Linked DNA regions of Homo sapiens: region 1 is linked to region 2. The links are contacts of gene promoters, found by promoter capture Hi-C in human tissues and cell types (Jung and others, 2019). All regions are on one chromosome and are shown on one strand. Each heading gives the region's core, a stretch centred on a gene start or on the middle of the fragment in contact. The rest is flanking DNA. Distances are from core to core; before and after follow the strand shown.

Region 1 (7,390 bases), core at 3,254-5,753, 280 kb before region 2:
TTTGTCATGGAACCATGATCTTTAAAGTGGTTCTGGAAAAATGGTTATGGGCCTGTTCTTTGTCTTGAGATTATTCTTGGTGGAGAGAGAAATAGCTGCTTGCTGTAAACAACTGGACACAGTAGCTGTCCTTGTCTGACATCTGCTTTGCTCAGCTGAAACATCTGCCTCATTGGCTGTTGTGGGTGTCTCTGAAGCTCATGTTGAATTGCTGTCAAATGCCCAGCGTGTTCTTGGTGGTGACACAGCCACATTGTGTAAATACATTTCTTAAGTCATTTGTGTGTATAGCAGCTGGATTTGGGGACAAGCATTTGGGCACACTCGCTACAAGATTGGTTAGTGATTATGGATGATGAAGTCTGTCGGAAAATTCAGATCTTGATTGTGAGTTATCTTACTTGTCTTTTAAGTTCTCTTTCATCCATTTGGCTCAGGGGACACAGCAGACATCTTCCTGGCCTTAAATAGCTTTCTTTCTGCCAGGTAAGAGAAGTATGATGAGTGCTTTGAAAGAAAAATACTGAGTTCTCTGGGGTGGAGTGTGGTTAACCAGGGTCAGTGGGGGTCACCCCAAACTTATTTAAGGCTTGAGCCGCTGCATCTGGGTGTATTTTTTTTTTTTTTTTTGAGACAGAGTCTTGCTCTTGTTGCCAAGGCTGGAGTACAATGGTGCGATCTCAGCTCACTGCAACCTCTGCCTCCTTGGTTAAAGCGATACTCCTGCCTCAGCCTCCCTAGTAGCTGGGACTACAGGCGCGTGCCACCACGCCGGCTAATTTTTGTACTTTTAGTAGAGATGGGGTTTCACAATGTTGGCCAGGTTGGTCTCGCACTCCTGACCTCAAGTGATCCAGCCGCCTAGGCCTCCTAAAGTGCTGAGATTACAGTTGTGAGCTACCACACCCAGCTGGGCTTATTATTTTTAATCCATTGACAAAATCTTTTCAGTTTCTGTTTCTAACTGGTGAAACTAGATAGTAACATTAATCTATAATCATAGTTTTCCTCTAAATATTAACTAAATATTTTATCCATTTAAAACACTGTTTTCTTCTCTTTTTTTTGAGACAGGGTCTTGCCCTGTTGCCTAGACTGGAATGCAGTGGTGTGATCTCCGCTCACCTCCCAGGCTCAAGGGAACCTCAGTCTCTCGCACAGCTGGGACTAGAGGCACATACCACCATACCCGGCTAGTTTTTGTATTTTTTTGTGGAGGTAGGGTTTTGTCATGTTGCCCAGGCTGGTCTCGAACTCCTGCGCTCGAGTGATCTTCCTGCCTCCTGCTGTAGCCTCCCGAAGTTGCTGGGATTACAAATGTATGCTACTGTGCCTAGCCTTAAAACACTTATCTTGACCGCAGAGGAGGTCTACACAAAAAGAAAGAAAAAAAAAAAGCTGTCTGCTTCAGGCTGGGCACGGTGGTTCACACCTGTCATTCTAGCACTTCGGGAGGCAGAGGTGGGAGGATCACATGAACCCAGGAGTTACAGAGGAGCCTGGGCAACATAGTGAGGCTCTCATTTCTACAAAAAATTTAAAGATTAGCTGAACAAAAATTAGCTGGTGCATGCCTGTGCTCCCAGCTACTGGGGAGCCTGAGGCGGGAGGATCTCTTGAGCCCGGGGATTCAAGGCTGCAGTGAGCCATGATTGCACCACTTCATTCCAGCCTGGGCAACAGAGCAAGACCCTGTGTCAAAAAAAAAAAAGTTTTCATCAAATTTCTGCAATTAAAAAAATTAGAGGCCGGGCGCGGTGGCTCAGGCCTGTAATCCCAGCACTTTGGGAGGCCGAGGCGGGCGGATCACGAGGTCAGCAGATCGAGACCATCCTGGCTAACACAGTGAAACCCCATCTCTACTAAAAATACAAAAAATTAGCCGGGCTTGGTGGCGGGCACCTGTAGTCCCAGCTACTGGGGAGGCTGAGGCTTGAAACCAGGAGGCGGAGGTTGCAGTGAGCCAAGATTGCACCACTGCACTCCAGCCTGGGCGACAGAGCGAGACAACGTCTCAAAAAAAAAAAAAAAAAAGGCAATTAGAATGAGACTTTTGTTTTTATTTTCTGTTCTCTGTGACTCAGTAAACTTCTTAGAGAAAGAACTCTTGGAGAAAAGGGAGAGACCTGTCACTTCCTTTCTGCATGGACTGTGGTATTCCTGCCCCACCCCTGCCGAAATGTTAATGAGCTGTGCAAACTACTGCTGGATTGTTTTGTTCTTCCCCCTAATCAGAGTTTCCACTCAGGACTGGGTAGCCTGTGGACTCCCTGGAGGACAGATAGGTGTGGCAGCCTCAGTGGCCTAGAGTGGACAGCTGGTTTACCGATAGTCCTTTTTTTTGAGACAGAGTCTTGGTCTATCACCCGGGCTGGAGTGCAGTAGTACGATCTTGGCTCACCACATCCCCTACCTCCCAGGCTGAAGTGATTCTCGTGCTTCAGCCTTCCCAGTAGCTGAGACTATAGGCAGACACCAACATACCCACCTAATTTTGTATTTTTAGTAGAGTCGGGGTTTCACCATGTTGGCCAGCCTGGTCTTGAACTCCTGTCCTCCAGTGATCTGTCCACCTCGGCCTCCCAAAATGCTGGGTTTATAGGCACGAGTCACCGCGGGCTTACTGATAGTTCTGTAGGCCAGGGGAATAATCCGTTTGAATAACCATATATGAGGTATTGTGTTTATCTTTCTTTCTTCAAGTTATTCTTGGTGTCAGCTCCTTTTTTTTTTTTTTTTCTGAGACAGAGTCTCGCTCTGTCGTCCAGGCTGGAGTGCAATGGCGCTATCTCAGCTCACTGCAACCTCTGCCCCCCGGGTTCAAGCGATTCTCCTGCCTCAGCCTCCTGAGTAGCTGGGATTACTGATGCACATCACCACGCCTGGTTAATTTTTTGTATTTTTAGTAGAGATGGAGTTTCACCATGTTGGCCAAATTGGTCTCGAACTCCTGACCTTGCGATCCACCCACCTCAGCCTCCCAAAGTGCTGGGATTACAGGCGTGAGCTACCACGCCCATCCCGTGTCAGGTCTTTTACCTTAATTAATACGTATTGTATTGACAAATTTTCTTTTCTTTCTGAGCCCTCACTTTTTTTTTTTTTTTTGAAACAAGGTCTCACTCTGTTGCCCAAACTGGAATGTAGTGATAATGATCACAGCTCACTGCAGCCTCAACCTCTTGGGCTCAAGCTAACCTCCCACCTCAGCCTCCCAGGTAGCTGGGACTACAAGCACATGCCACTACACCTAATTTTATTTTACTTTTTGTAGAGATGGGGTCTCCCCATGTTGCCCAGACTGGTCTCGAACACCTGGCCTCAAGTCATCCTCCTGCCTCAGCCTCCCAAAGCACTAGGATTATAGGCGTGAACCACCCTGCCCGGCCATGAAGTTAAATTTTTGGTTATTAGCTTGTTGAGTTCTGTTTTCTGTTTTTTTAAATAGCCACATGGCCTGACTCTCTGTGGTCAATGGTATGGATGCTAAAGTAGAGCAAGGACAGTGCCCTGCTCAAGTCTCTCTGACCTGGGTCCATGGGGATTTTCTCTGCCAGTCAGGTTCCTGAAGCTCTGGCTACGGCTCCTGGTATTTTTAATGACCGCAGTAGAGAAAAACATTGGTATCTTCTTGCTGTTGATGAGCAAATCTTTGGACCTGTCTCATGGTGTCTTTATTTGCAAACTGGTTGAATCATGAACTGCCTGGCTTTGGCTGCCTTGCCGTTGTGGCTTTTAATAACTACCCCTATTTCTGGTGGCTCAGTCAAGTTTCCAAAAAGGAAGTCTTACCTGGAGATCCTGTGAAGGAATTCCTGACCAGCTTTTTAATTTTCCAAAGACAGGCCTTATTCGTGTTAAACACACACCCCTTTTCTGTGGCCAGGCCGGTGTGAAAGCATGTGCAGAGGCTGTATAGCAGTAAGAGTTCCCACCCCTTGGGGCATTTTCATTGTCACCACATTGTCTGACTTTGGAGACGACCCCTTTTAAACTCTGGCATTTGCTCAGGTAAGTATTTGGGGAGTATTGTTATAAATGCTGTGCATATCCGTTTTTTCCCCACAGTGGAAAGGAAAATGATTTTTTTTTTTTTTGAGTCGGAGTCTTGCTCTGTCACCCAGGCTGGAGTGCAGTGGTGCCATCTCGGCTCACTGCAACCTCCGCCTCCCAGGTTCACACCATTCTCCTGCCTCAGCCTCCTGAGTAGCTGGGACTACAGGCACCCGCCACCACGCCCGGCTAATTTTTTCTATCTTTAGTAGAGATGGGGTTTCACCGTGTTAGCTAGGATGGTCTCGATCTCCTGACCTTGTGATCCACCCGCCTTGGCCTCCCAAAGTGCTGGGATTACAGGCGTGAGCCACCGCGCCCGGTCGGAAAATGATTTTAATGGATGGTTTTGAGGAAGCTGGTGATTATTTTGTAATGGAGAATTGTAACATGCCAGGGGTTTGGCTCTTCTTTCAGTATTTCTTCAGGCTACCACAAAACTCCACTATTGATATTCTTCCAAAAATAAACAAAACACTAAAAGGACTCCTGCCTTTGGAACAAAATAGCTTCATATTAAGGTAGCTTTGAGGCACAAACCAAGCTGCCTGTGGAGAAGCTGGTTCTTCCTCTAAAACTTACATGAACCTCTGACCCCACTCCCCCTTACTAACGGTTTTCTTTTCTCTTTTGATTTTCTATTTTATACTTTTTATTTTGGACTACTTATAGATTCACAAAATGTTGTAAAAATAGCACAGGGCTGGACCCTGAAGTCTGCTTCCCTGAATGGTAACCTCTTTTTTTTTTTTTTTTTTTTTTTGAGACGGAATTTTGCTTTTGTTGCCCAGGCTGGAGTGGAATGGCACGATCTTGGCCACTGCACCCTCTGCCTCCCAGGTTCAAGTGATTCTCCTGCCTCAGCCTCCCGAGTAGCTGGGATTACAGGCATGCACCACCACGCCCGGCTAATTTTTTTTTGTATTTTTAGTAGAGATGGGGTTTCTCCATGTTGGTCAGGCTGGTCTCAAACTCCCGACCTCAGGTGATCTGCCCGCCTCAGCCTCCCAACGTGCTGGGATTACAGGCATGAGCCATCGCGCTCGACCAATAACTACCATTTCAAATTCCCACGACTATTGTACTGCAGACCTGTTATCGTATATTCTCACCAACACATTTTAAAATGCTTAACTTTTAGGCTGGGCGTGGCCCACACTTTGGGAGGCTGAGGCAGGCAGATCACTTGGGCCCTGGAGTTTGAGACCAGCCTGGGCAACGTGGCGAAACTCTGTCTCTACAAAAAATACAAAAATTTGCCCGGCGCGGTGATGCACACCTGTGGTCCCAGCTACTTTATAGGCTGAGGTGGGAGAATCTCTCGAACCCAGCAGGAGGAGGTTGCAGTGAGCCTAGATCACCACTGCCCTCCAGCCTGGGCCACAGAGTGAGACCCTGTCTCAAGATCAGATAAAATGAAATGCTTAACTTTTGTTAATGTCATTGGTCCTGCTGTGTCTATGAGTGAGACTGAGTGTGTTTCCCCTGGGCACCGGCCACTGGCGTGTGCTCTTCAGTGAACTGCCCAGTTATGAATTCGTTTCCTGTTTCCCCACTGGGGTCCTTGCCTTTCTTTTGTGGGTTTGTGAAAACCCTAAGAATATTTATCCTGGTTTGTTTTGTGGAGCTAACAACAATCTTTTGGCTTCCCTGGGCCACGTTGGAAGAATTGTCTTGGGCCACACATAAAGTACACTAACACTAATGATAGCTGATGAGCTGAAAAAAAAAAATTGCAAAAAAATCTGTGAATGTTTTAAGAAAGTTTCTGAATTTATGTTAGGCCACACTTCAAGCCATCCTGGGCCGAGGGTTGGACAAGCTTGGGTTAGACATTTCATAATATATTTAGTTCATCAGTGTTTTTCTTAATGATTTCCACCTTTGGGGTCATGCGTTCAAGACTTTCCCTAACAATACATAAACATTCTCTTCTATTTTCTTTTAGTTTAATGTTTGTTAAAAATAATGTTTACATTTTTGGCCAGGCGCAGTGGCTCACGCCTGTAATCCCAGCACTTTGAGAGGCTTAGGTGGGCAGATCACGAGGTCAGCAGTTCTAGACCAGCCTGATCATCATGGTGAAACCGTCTCTACTAAAAATACAAAAATTAGCTGGGTGCGGTGGTGGGTGTGGTGGTGGGTGCCTATAGTCCCAGCCACTCAGGAGGCTGAGGCAGGAGAATCGCTTGAACCCAGGAGGCAGAGGTTGCAGTGAGCCAAGATCACGCCATTGTACTCCCGCCTAGGTGACAGAGCAAGATTCTGTCTCAAAAAAATAATAATAATAATAATAATGTTTACATTTTTAATTCATTTGGAGTTTATCTTGATTGGTGGATTTTTTTTTTTTTTTGTGACGAGGTCTCACTCTCACCCAGGCTGGAGCACAGTGGTGCAGTCTCGGCTCACCGCAACCTCTGCCTCCTGGGTTCAAGCAGTTCTCCTGCCTCAGCCTCCTGAGTAGGTGGTGGCTTTTTTTTTTTTTTTTTTTTTTGAGATAGTCTTGCTCTGTCGCCCAGGCTGGAGTGCAGTGGTGCGATCTTGGCTCACTGCAAGCTCTGCCTCCCGGGTTCACGCCATTCTCCTGCCTCAGCCTCCCGAGTAGCTGGGACTAAAGGTGCCCGCCACCACACCCGGCTAATTTTTTGTATTTTTAGTAGAGATGGGGTTTCACCGTGTTAGCCAGGATGGTCTCAATCTCCTGACCTTGTGATCCGCCCGCTTTGGCCTCCTAAAGTGCTGGTATTACAGGCGTGAGCCACCATGCCCAGCCAGCTGGTGTTTTTTTTTTTTCGATCGATTGGTGTTTTGTTTTGTTTTGTTTTGTTTTTGTTTTTTTCTTTTTTTGAGATGGGGGTCTTGCTCTGTTGCCCAGGCTGGAGTGCAGTGGCACGATCTTGGCTCACTGCAACCTCTGCCTCCCAGGCTCAAGTGATTCTCCTGCCTCAGCCTCCTGAGTAGTTGGGATTATAGGCGCATGCCACCATACTCATCTAATTTTTTTATTTTAGCAGAGGTGGGGTTTCACCATGTTGTTCAGGCTGGTCTCGAACTCCTGACTTCGTGATCTGCCTGCCTCGGCCTCCGAAAGTGCTGGGATTACAGGCGCAAACCACCACGCCCGGTCAGTTGGTGGTTTTTTAATTGATTGATTGTTGGTTTTGTTGTTTTATCGATGTTTTGTTCTGTTTTGTTTTGTTTTGAGACAGAGCTTTACTCTGTGTCACCAGGCTGGAGGGCAGTGGCGTGATCACCACTCATTGCAGCCTCCACTTCCTGGCTTCAAGTGACCCTCCCACCTCAGCTCCTGGGTAGCTAAGACCACAGGCGTGTG
Region 2 (7,822 bases), core at 3,728-6,227:
GTGGGGCAGGTGGGGCGGGGCAAATTGGGCAGCACAGGGCTGTGTGGGCATCAGGGCTCTGGGTCACACGCCTCTGGGGACGTACGTCCCATGTCGGGAGAGCCGTCAAAACGTCCCCGGGATTAAGAGAAGAGTGGGGGGCAGGGCGCAGAGGCTCACGCCATAATCTCAGCACTTTGGGAGGCCAAGGCAGGAGGATCGCTTGAACCCGGGAGTTCAAGACCAGCCTGGGCAACATAGCAAGGCCCCATCTCTAAAAAATAAAAAATTAACCAGGCATTGTGGTGCGCACCTATAGTCCCAGTTCCTTGGGAGGCTGAGGTGGGAGAATTGCTTGAGTCCAGGAGACGGAGGTTACAGTGAGCTGTGATCACACCGCTGCACTCCAGCCTGGGCGACAGCGAGACCCCATTTCAGAAAGAATTTAAAAGGGCAGTGATGTGCAGGGTGGTGGGAGGACATCCCCCAGAAGAGGGGGCAGACACAGTACCAGCACCACAGGCACGGGAAGGTGAGGAGGCAGGTCCCGACGGAAGTGGGCTCCCGAGGTCATGGGCAGCCAGGGAGTCTGAGAGAGCTCAGTGCCACTGCAGCCACAAAGAATGGCCTGCGGGGAGTGGTCCCATCTGATCAAGAGTCCCCCAAAAACACAAGCCTTGAAAACTGGACCACCTGGTCCAGCATCCAGGAAGCGGACTGTGCATCTGCGGCTCTCGCTCTCCCGCCCCCCGCGCGAGATGCCCGCCTGCCTGTCACTCTCAGATGCAGATGGAGATGGAGAAACCAAGGCCCAGGGAAGCTGAGGACCCAGGTCTGCCAGTCCCCTCAGCCCAGCTGCTGCTTGCGGGCTGGTGACCAGAAGAGGACCAGGCGTGGCCTACAGTGAGGAGTCCTTGAACCCTCAGTGCAGGTGCAGCAGAATGGTTCCAGGTCACAGGGCCCAAGAACCCTGATTGCTTCATGAGTTAGAACTGAGGAGTGACAGGCCGGGCGCGGTGGCTCACGCCTGTAATCCCAGCACTTTGGGAGGCCCAGGCAGGCGGATCACAAGGTCAGGAAATCGAGACCATCCTGGCTAACATGGTGAAACCACGTCTCTACTAAAAATACAAAAAAATTAGCCGGGCGTGGTGGCCGGCACCTGTAGTCCCAGCTACTTGGGAGGCTGAGGCATGAGAATGGCGTGAACCTGGGAGGTGGAGCTTGCAGTGAGCAGCGATCACGCCACCGCACTCCAGCCTGGGCAACAGAGCGAGACTCCGTCTCAAAAAAAAAAAGAACTGAGGAGTGACATGGGCGGTGTGGGTGTGTCCAAGGCCAAGTTCCTCCTCCCAGGAAAAAGACCTGCTCTCCCACCTACCCAGGGGTCTGTGTGGTGCCAGTAAGACCCATCTCTGCCTAGAGGGAGAAGCTGGAGGTGGGGAGGGGAACTCACTCCACGCTGCCAGGCCAGAGCCAGGGAGGGGAAGGGGAGCAGCTTCCTCCTCCTGATACCCCACTGTGGTCTAGGAGCACCTCAGTTTCCACGCTAGATTTTAAACATGGGGCTGTCCACAGTCCAGCTGGCCCCACCTCGATGACCCACTGGGGTCTCCAGCCCAAAGGAGTTTGAGACAGGAGGACACAGGATGAAATGGAAACATTCCCGGAAGGGCTGCCAGAGACCTTGTGGGTGAGCGAGAGCAGGGTGGGGTGGCCGGTGTGCATGCCTGGTGGACGTGCCCAGAAGCCTGCACCCCCCAGGAGGCCCGAACGTGTCCCTCTGGAGTGTCGCCCCCACCCCCAGCTGTGCAGTGGGATGGTCACTGGGCCTGCCAAGTCTCCCAAGGCAGATCCTGTCCCCAGCTGGCTCCTGACATTGAATGTTCTGAGTCTTGGTCAGTTCTGCCCGATGGAAGAGCACCAAGGAGTCTTGCCCGGCAGGATAGAGAGGAGCGGCTCTGCCCCTGCCCTGGAACAAGAGCCCCGGACGTGGGTGCAGAGCCCCTCACATGAGGACCGCCCCATCCTGCCTCTGCTGAAGGGCAGGTATAGGAAGGCTGGACCCCCTCAGCGGCCCCCCGGATGTGGGTGCAGAGCCCCTCACATGAGGACCGCCCCAGCCTGCCTCTGCTGAAGGGCAGGTATAGGAAGTCTGGACCCCCTCAGCGGCCCCCCGGATGGCACCCTGGCCCCTCTACCTGCTGGCAGTCCAGTAACCTGGAGGTGGTGGCCCAGAGAAAGGCGGGAACTTCTCCCAGGGCCCCGTCCATTGTTATTTTCACCTGTCCGGCCGCCCATTCTTTTTTTGAGACGGACTCAGTCACCCAGGCTGGAGCGCCATGTGCCATCCCAGCTCACTGCAGCCTCAACCTCCCGGGCTCAAGTGATGCTCCTGCCTCTGCCTCCCAAGTAGCAGGGACCACAAGCACACACCACCACACCCTAATTATCTTTTAAGTGGAGACAGGTTTCGCTTTGTGTGTTGCCCAGGCTGGTGGTCCGTCGTCTTTTTGACCCAGGCCTGTGTGGCTCACAAAGCAGGCAATTGCAGGGTCATCCCATCAAATCTGAGCATGGCACCAGAGCACACAAGTCAGCCACCTGCGGGCCTTGGCACCCTCGTGCTCCACGCCAGGGTCCCTGTGTGCTCAAGTCTGGGCTCCATGATGGCACTGGGGTTTGTTCTGTTTGCTGCTTTGTGCGCGTGAGGCTTTCTCTGGGTGCCTGAACAGATGCCTCCAGTTTCAGTTCTTTCTGTTTGGCCCTCCCCATCCTCTTCTCCTCCAGGGGGGATTCATGGCTCGCCTCTTGGCTCTTCTGGGCACTTGGCGAGCTTCTGCGCACTTGCGTTAGCTGCTCAGGTCTGTCTGGATGTGAGAGTCGTGTCCTCAGGCCAGGAAGCACTGGCACGGAGCAGGGCTCGGTCAATGGTCTGGATAATCCAGAGTCACTTACCTTCTGCTGTGCAGTCATTTACAATTCACGCCTGTGTGCCTGATGTCTTGTGACTCAGAATCTTCAAGACAATCACAGGCTGGCCTCACGGAGGCACGAGTGACTCATTTCTCTCATCGCACCCATTCCCTCCAGCACTCTCCTTGTGCGGGGAAACCTCAGTCACCTTGAAGACGCCTCCTGAGGCCCTCTTCTGGGTGAATGGGCTTCCTCCTTCACCATGACAGGCTACTGGGGAGAGCTGGGGTGCTCCCACCCTCTCCTCACCCCAAATGGGCCTGGCCTAGCAAAACTGGCCAGAACTGGCCACTCTGCAGTGAGCTGGCAGGGCCCTCAGCATCAGATCAACAGGTTCAACTGCAGCTGCCTCTCTGGTGGGGAGGTTATAAGGCCTGCTGGCTAGACCACTGGCCCCTGGCCAGGGAGCCACCTAGGCAGTGCCAGGGAAGGACTGGGAAGGGAAGAGAACCTGCGGTCCCTGAGTGAGGCCTTGACTGCACCCTCTCCTGTGGTTCGAAAGCCACACTTGGCCAGTATCCTGCCATGCAGGTGAGGAAGCTGGGGAGGACAGGGTCCCAGAGCCTTGTCCAAGTTGCAGAGAGGAGAGCCAGCTCTCACTCTGCAGCCCTCTGTGCCCCCAGACCCCCACTGGCCCCCGGGGACACATTTCCTGCCCTTGGGATGCTTTGGCATGGATATAGTCTGGGAACAAACGGCACATCCAGCTGCCCTGCCTGTCTCCACAGAGGGGGCAGCAGACCTAGGGGGAGGTGTCCAAGACACAGGAATGAAGTGTCCTTACCAAAAGCTTCCGAGGACAGAAATAAACCCCTCCTGCCAGCTTCTGCACTGACTGCAGCTAGAAGCCGAGCTCCACGTGGGACACAGGTGTCCCTGCTGCGGCATCTCAGCATGACGGAGGCCCATCCTTGGCTTTCCTGGAGCATGAATATCCTCTGAGGAGCACTGGCCCTGGCCTTGTAGGTCTTGCTGAGACTGGCTTAGATTTTCTGGCCCAGGAGCAATCGTCACCCAACCTCCCACTTGTAAATCTCGCCACAGAATCGGCCCACAACCGTCTCTCCGGAATCTCGGCGGACCAGCCCTGCTCCTGTGTCTCCCTCTCCCGCAGAGCCACTGCCTTCTCAGGCTCCTCAAGTGCACCTAAGAGCGGGAGTCTGGCTGCCCTCAGCACTCGCGTCCCGCCCTGCAGCCTGATAAGCTTGACGCCAAGGCATTCTCCCGAGAGCCGGCCCAGCAGCTGCTGGCAGGAGAGTGGCCTCAGGGCAGCGGGAAGGGGACCTCCGGGGAGAGAATGAGGCCTGCGCAAGGGTCCTGGAAGGACCCAGGAGTCGCCCCGGCTTCCCTCCCCCAGGCCCTGGTTGGGCGCCGTGGGCCGCGTCCCAGTTGAGCCCGGCGTGGCCGTTTAATGGCGTCCCTCCGCGACCGAGGACGAAGGGGCCTAGAGAGGCTGTGCCCAAGCGACGCTGCGAGGCCAGGCCGCGTCTCGGGCCAGGGCGGTCCCCTTGCCACCGCCGCTCTTGGCCGCCAGGACCAAGCACAGCACGCAGCGTCGCGAAAGGGGCGGTCCTGGAAGGCGCGAAGGGGTCTCCGGGTCTCGCGAACACGGCGGGGTCGGGGCGGAGTCGTGGGTCCTCGGTCGAGCGGCCGCCCAGAGCCCCGCGGGACACGGACGGCCCCAGCCCGGCTCCCCGCGAGCCCCACGCGTCTGTGACGCCGCTGATGCGCAGACGCCGCGGCTGCAGGCCCCGCCCCTCCGTGCCCCTCGCAAGGCCCTCTGGGAGTTGTAGTTCCAGCTCCTCCTCGGGCCGCCCCACTCCCTGATAATCCTGGAGCGCGGCGCCTCCCGGGGACCGAGGCCTCGGGCCCGGCCGTCTCCAGCAGCGAGGGCAGGAGAAGTGGCCCGGGCGGTCGGCGGACTGGGAGGGCGCCACCCGAGGACTACAACTCCCGGCCTGCCTCGCGCAGGCACCGCCCCGAGCTTCCGCCCCGTCGGCGCCGCGCAGCCCTGTGGGAGCCGTAGTCCGGGCGCGCGATTCACAGCGCCGCGTGCGCCCCGGGCGCGCCGTAGCCGCGGGGCCCGGGCCGGGCGCTACGCTACGAAGGCAGCGTAAGGCGGGCGCCGGACGCGGGCAGGGGCCGGGGCCGGAGCCGGGTCGGGGCGCCCCGCGGCTGAGGAGCGGGAGGCCGTCCGGGCAGCGCGGCCGGCGGCGAGAGGGGCCCCGCCGCTCTCCGGAGGCAGAAGTTGTGGATCGGCCGGCGGGGGCGAGCGGGCCCGGGGGCCGGGGCCGCGCTGCCCGGGCCGCGAGGACGAGGCGGCGCCGCCGGGCTGTGGAGGTGAGTCCCGTCGGCCGGGCCCGGCCGGGCGCCCAGCCGGGGACCCCGGGCGGGGAGCGCGGGCCCGGAGGGCGGCGGGGAGCGCGGGCTCGGCGGGGCGCAGGAGGCCTCGGGGGCCGGGCGCGCCGGGCTCCGAGCCAGGGCAGGGACGGCAGGGCCCCCGGAGTGGGGTCAGCCCGCCGCCCGCTGGCGCCTCCAGGCTGGTGGGGGCCAGGGCTGGGCGATGCTTCGCAGAGGAACCCAGAGGAAGGCGGGAAGTCGGCAGGGACCTGGGCCATGTGGGTCACTTGAGGCCAGCCCCGGGGGCCGCGCACACCGGAGGCGGCCTCGGCCCTGCCTGCCCTTGAGTGCCCTTATATCCGGGCCCATCGTGCGGTCCTGGCCGCCTTAGGGATGTTGTGCTTGGTGCGGGCATCACTCCCCTCACTTGGGGAACGGCCTGGGGGCGGCCACCTGGCGTGGAGGGGCTGGCGGGAGCCCCGTCTGTGCCAGCCATGCCAGTGTTCTCTTCCGTGTTCCTCTGGGGCTGCTGCGGCACCAGCTGGGAAGTTGCAAATCTGCTGTCCTCCCGCTGGCTGCAGAAGGGGCCCCTCTAGTCCTGACCGGGGGAACTCTTGTGTGGTCAGCTGGCCCTGGCCGGGCGAGCTCTCGGGGCCCCCTTACTGCTCTGGAGTTTGTTACCGGACTGCAGGTAACAAGACCCGGAAAGCAATGGTGAGGCCCAGAACCTGAGGCCAGGCCTGGGTGTGTGGGGCCAGTGGGGAAGACTGGGACTCCGTTGGGTGCTGAAGAGTTGTGTGCTTCTCCTTCGGGAAACCCGGATCTCTTCCTCTGCCCAGGTCTGAGGGGTGCGGAAACGTGAGTCACAGTTCAGTGTGGGAGTGCCCCGTAATTGCCTCCGCGTTTCCAGAGTCTGGGGCTGGGCAAGGATATAGGGGTGATTCTCCCTTCCGGTTCTGAGTGACTTCTCAACTGTGAAGTGGGGCAAGAGAAATTGTTTTTCTGGCCTGTCTGGGGGAGGCAGGTCCTGCAGGAAACCAGCTTGGCCTGGCCTTGGGTTGGGTGTGCCTTGCCTCCTCCGAGGTCCTTCTGCTTGCGGGAGGAGCACCCCTCTTTTTCCTGCTTCTGTCTGTGTCTGAGGCTCTCCAGAGCTCCTTGATTGGCAGAGGAGCCAGTGACCTCTGAGTCCCCAGGAGAGCCCGAGGCTCAGTAACTGCATAACTGCGCAGGGCCTCTTGTCTGGGCCTCCACAGACCGTGGTCTCTGAGAGCAGGAAGTGGCTGGTCCCCTGTAATGCTGCATCTGTGTGACAGCCTCAAGCCCTGCTGGCTCTCTCTCCGGGCACCCCTCACTTGCTTCTTGCCCTGGCCTTGGGCAGCACTCCGGTAACCCCAGTGCCACAGGTGAGGAACCGAAGCTGGAGACAGCTGTTCATGGCAGGGGAGGGGCCGAGGGAGGCTGAGCGCCTGGTCTCTCCCTCCTGCTGGTTCCACCAGTTCACACGAGGCAATTGGAGGGAAGGATTCTGCTGCCCGGAAAATCCTCCGGAACCACAGGTGTTGTTCATGGGCCTGAGCCGCTCAGTGAAGAACTCGGCCGTTGGTGGCCGAGTTGCCCCTGGTCCAGCCCTCTGGCCCGCGGTGTGATGCCTCTACTCATGGCAACAGGCGTGGACAGGTGCTGAGAAGGAGGACGACATCATTAAACAAAACAGCTTGGGGTCTTTGAAAAACAGTGACAGAAACCCAGGAAGGCTGGTGACTTGTCAGGTCTGTGTCTGTCCTGGGTGGCCACTCGGCCCTGGACCGTGAGGCTGAAATGACAGGAGACACGGAGGGTGGGCTTGGGTGGTTTCCTCATAAGACACAGAAGAAGGAGGCCCCCAACCCGGGGGCTGCCTCGTGCGCTTTGCTCTCCTGTTTTCCTGCTCTGTCCCTCTGGTCCTGCCCTCTGACCCCTGGCACAGCAGGAGTGCCCAGAAGCCCAGTGGGACTTGTTCTCTGCCTAAAGCCCTTCCGCATCCCTCGTACCCACTCGGTGTGGATGTGGGTTTTCTCACCACCAGGCTGTGCCTCAGCTGTGTGGAGCCACTGGCCTCTCATGCCCCACGCTGGAGAGAACGCTGAGGTCTGTGCGGTTCTCATGTGACCCTGTAGCTGGTCCCTGGCTCCCCACTGTGGGATCTGCCTGCAGCACTTACACTTGGGACCGCCCTGTCTCCCTGCTGGATGTGGCGCCGAGGGCAGGGTCCGTTTCTGTTTCTTGGTAGGCCTAGTGTCTAGCGCTATGCAGCCGTGCGCAGAGCAGGCGGTCAGTGAGCACCTGGGGTTGGCCCTCACCACAGGCAGTTCTGAATACCTGGGTTCTGGCAGCCCAGGGGGACTCCTGCGTGCTCCAGGAAAGTAGCACAGCAGCCCCTGTGGCGTGGACACGGCCACACCTGAGCTCGGCCTGTTTCTGAGTCTGAGAGAACAGGCTTGCTGGCCTGTGATCTTTGCATGTGTGTCTCGCTGCAGGGAGGCTGTGG

What was found. Contacts are between HindIII fragments. The study calls those that stand out against the background at their distance.
Region 1: a fragment that was not itself captured here is called in contact with the fragment with the promoter of CAPN15 in region 2 in 2 of the 25 tissues and cell types used here (lymphoblastoid cells and pancreas).

What each region holds. Positions count from the first base shown.
Region 1 is chr16:239,890-247,279 of GRCh38, forward strand. All of the region lies in intron 1 of FAM234A (family with sequence similarity 234 member A), which reads left to right. Among named protein-coding and RNA genes, the nearest start is that of FAM234A, 8.8 kb to the left of the region's middle. The HindIII fragment of the contact is 7,678 bases long and covers 665-7,390 here.
Region 2 is chr16:522,735-530,556 of GRCh38, forward strand. CAPN15 (calpain 15) reads left to right here and starts at 4,978. Exons shown (of 14, transcript NM_005632.3): 1 at 4,978-5,295. It overlaps LINC00235 (long intergenic non-protein coding RNA 235), which reads right to left and starts at 4,673. Exons shown (of 1, transcript NR_024121.1): 1 at 4,113-4,673. RAB11FIP3 (RAB11 family interacting protein 3) reads left to right here. Exons shown (of 14, transcript NM_014700.4): 14 at 1-277. RefSeq lists an enhancer at 3,537-4,098. The HindIII fragment of the contact is 8,144 bases long and covers 3,953-7,822 here.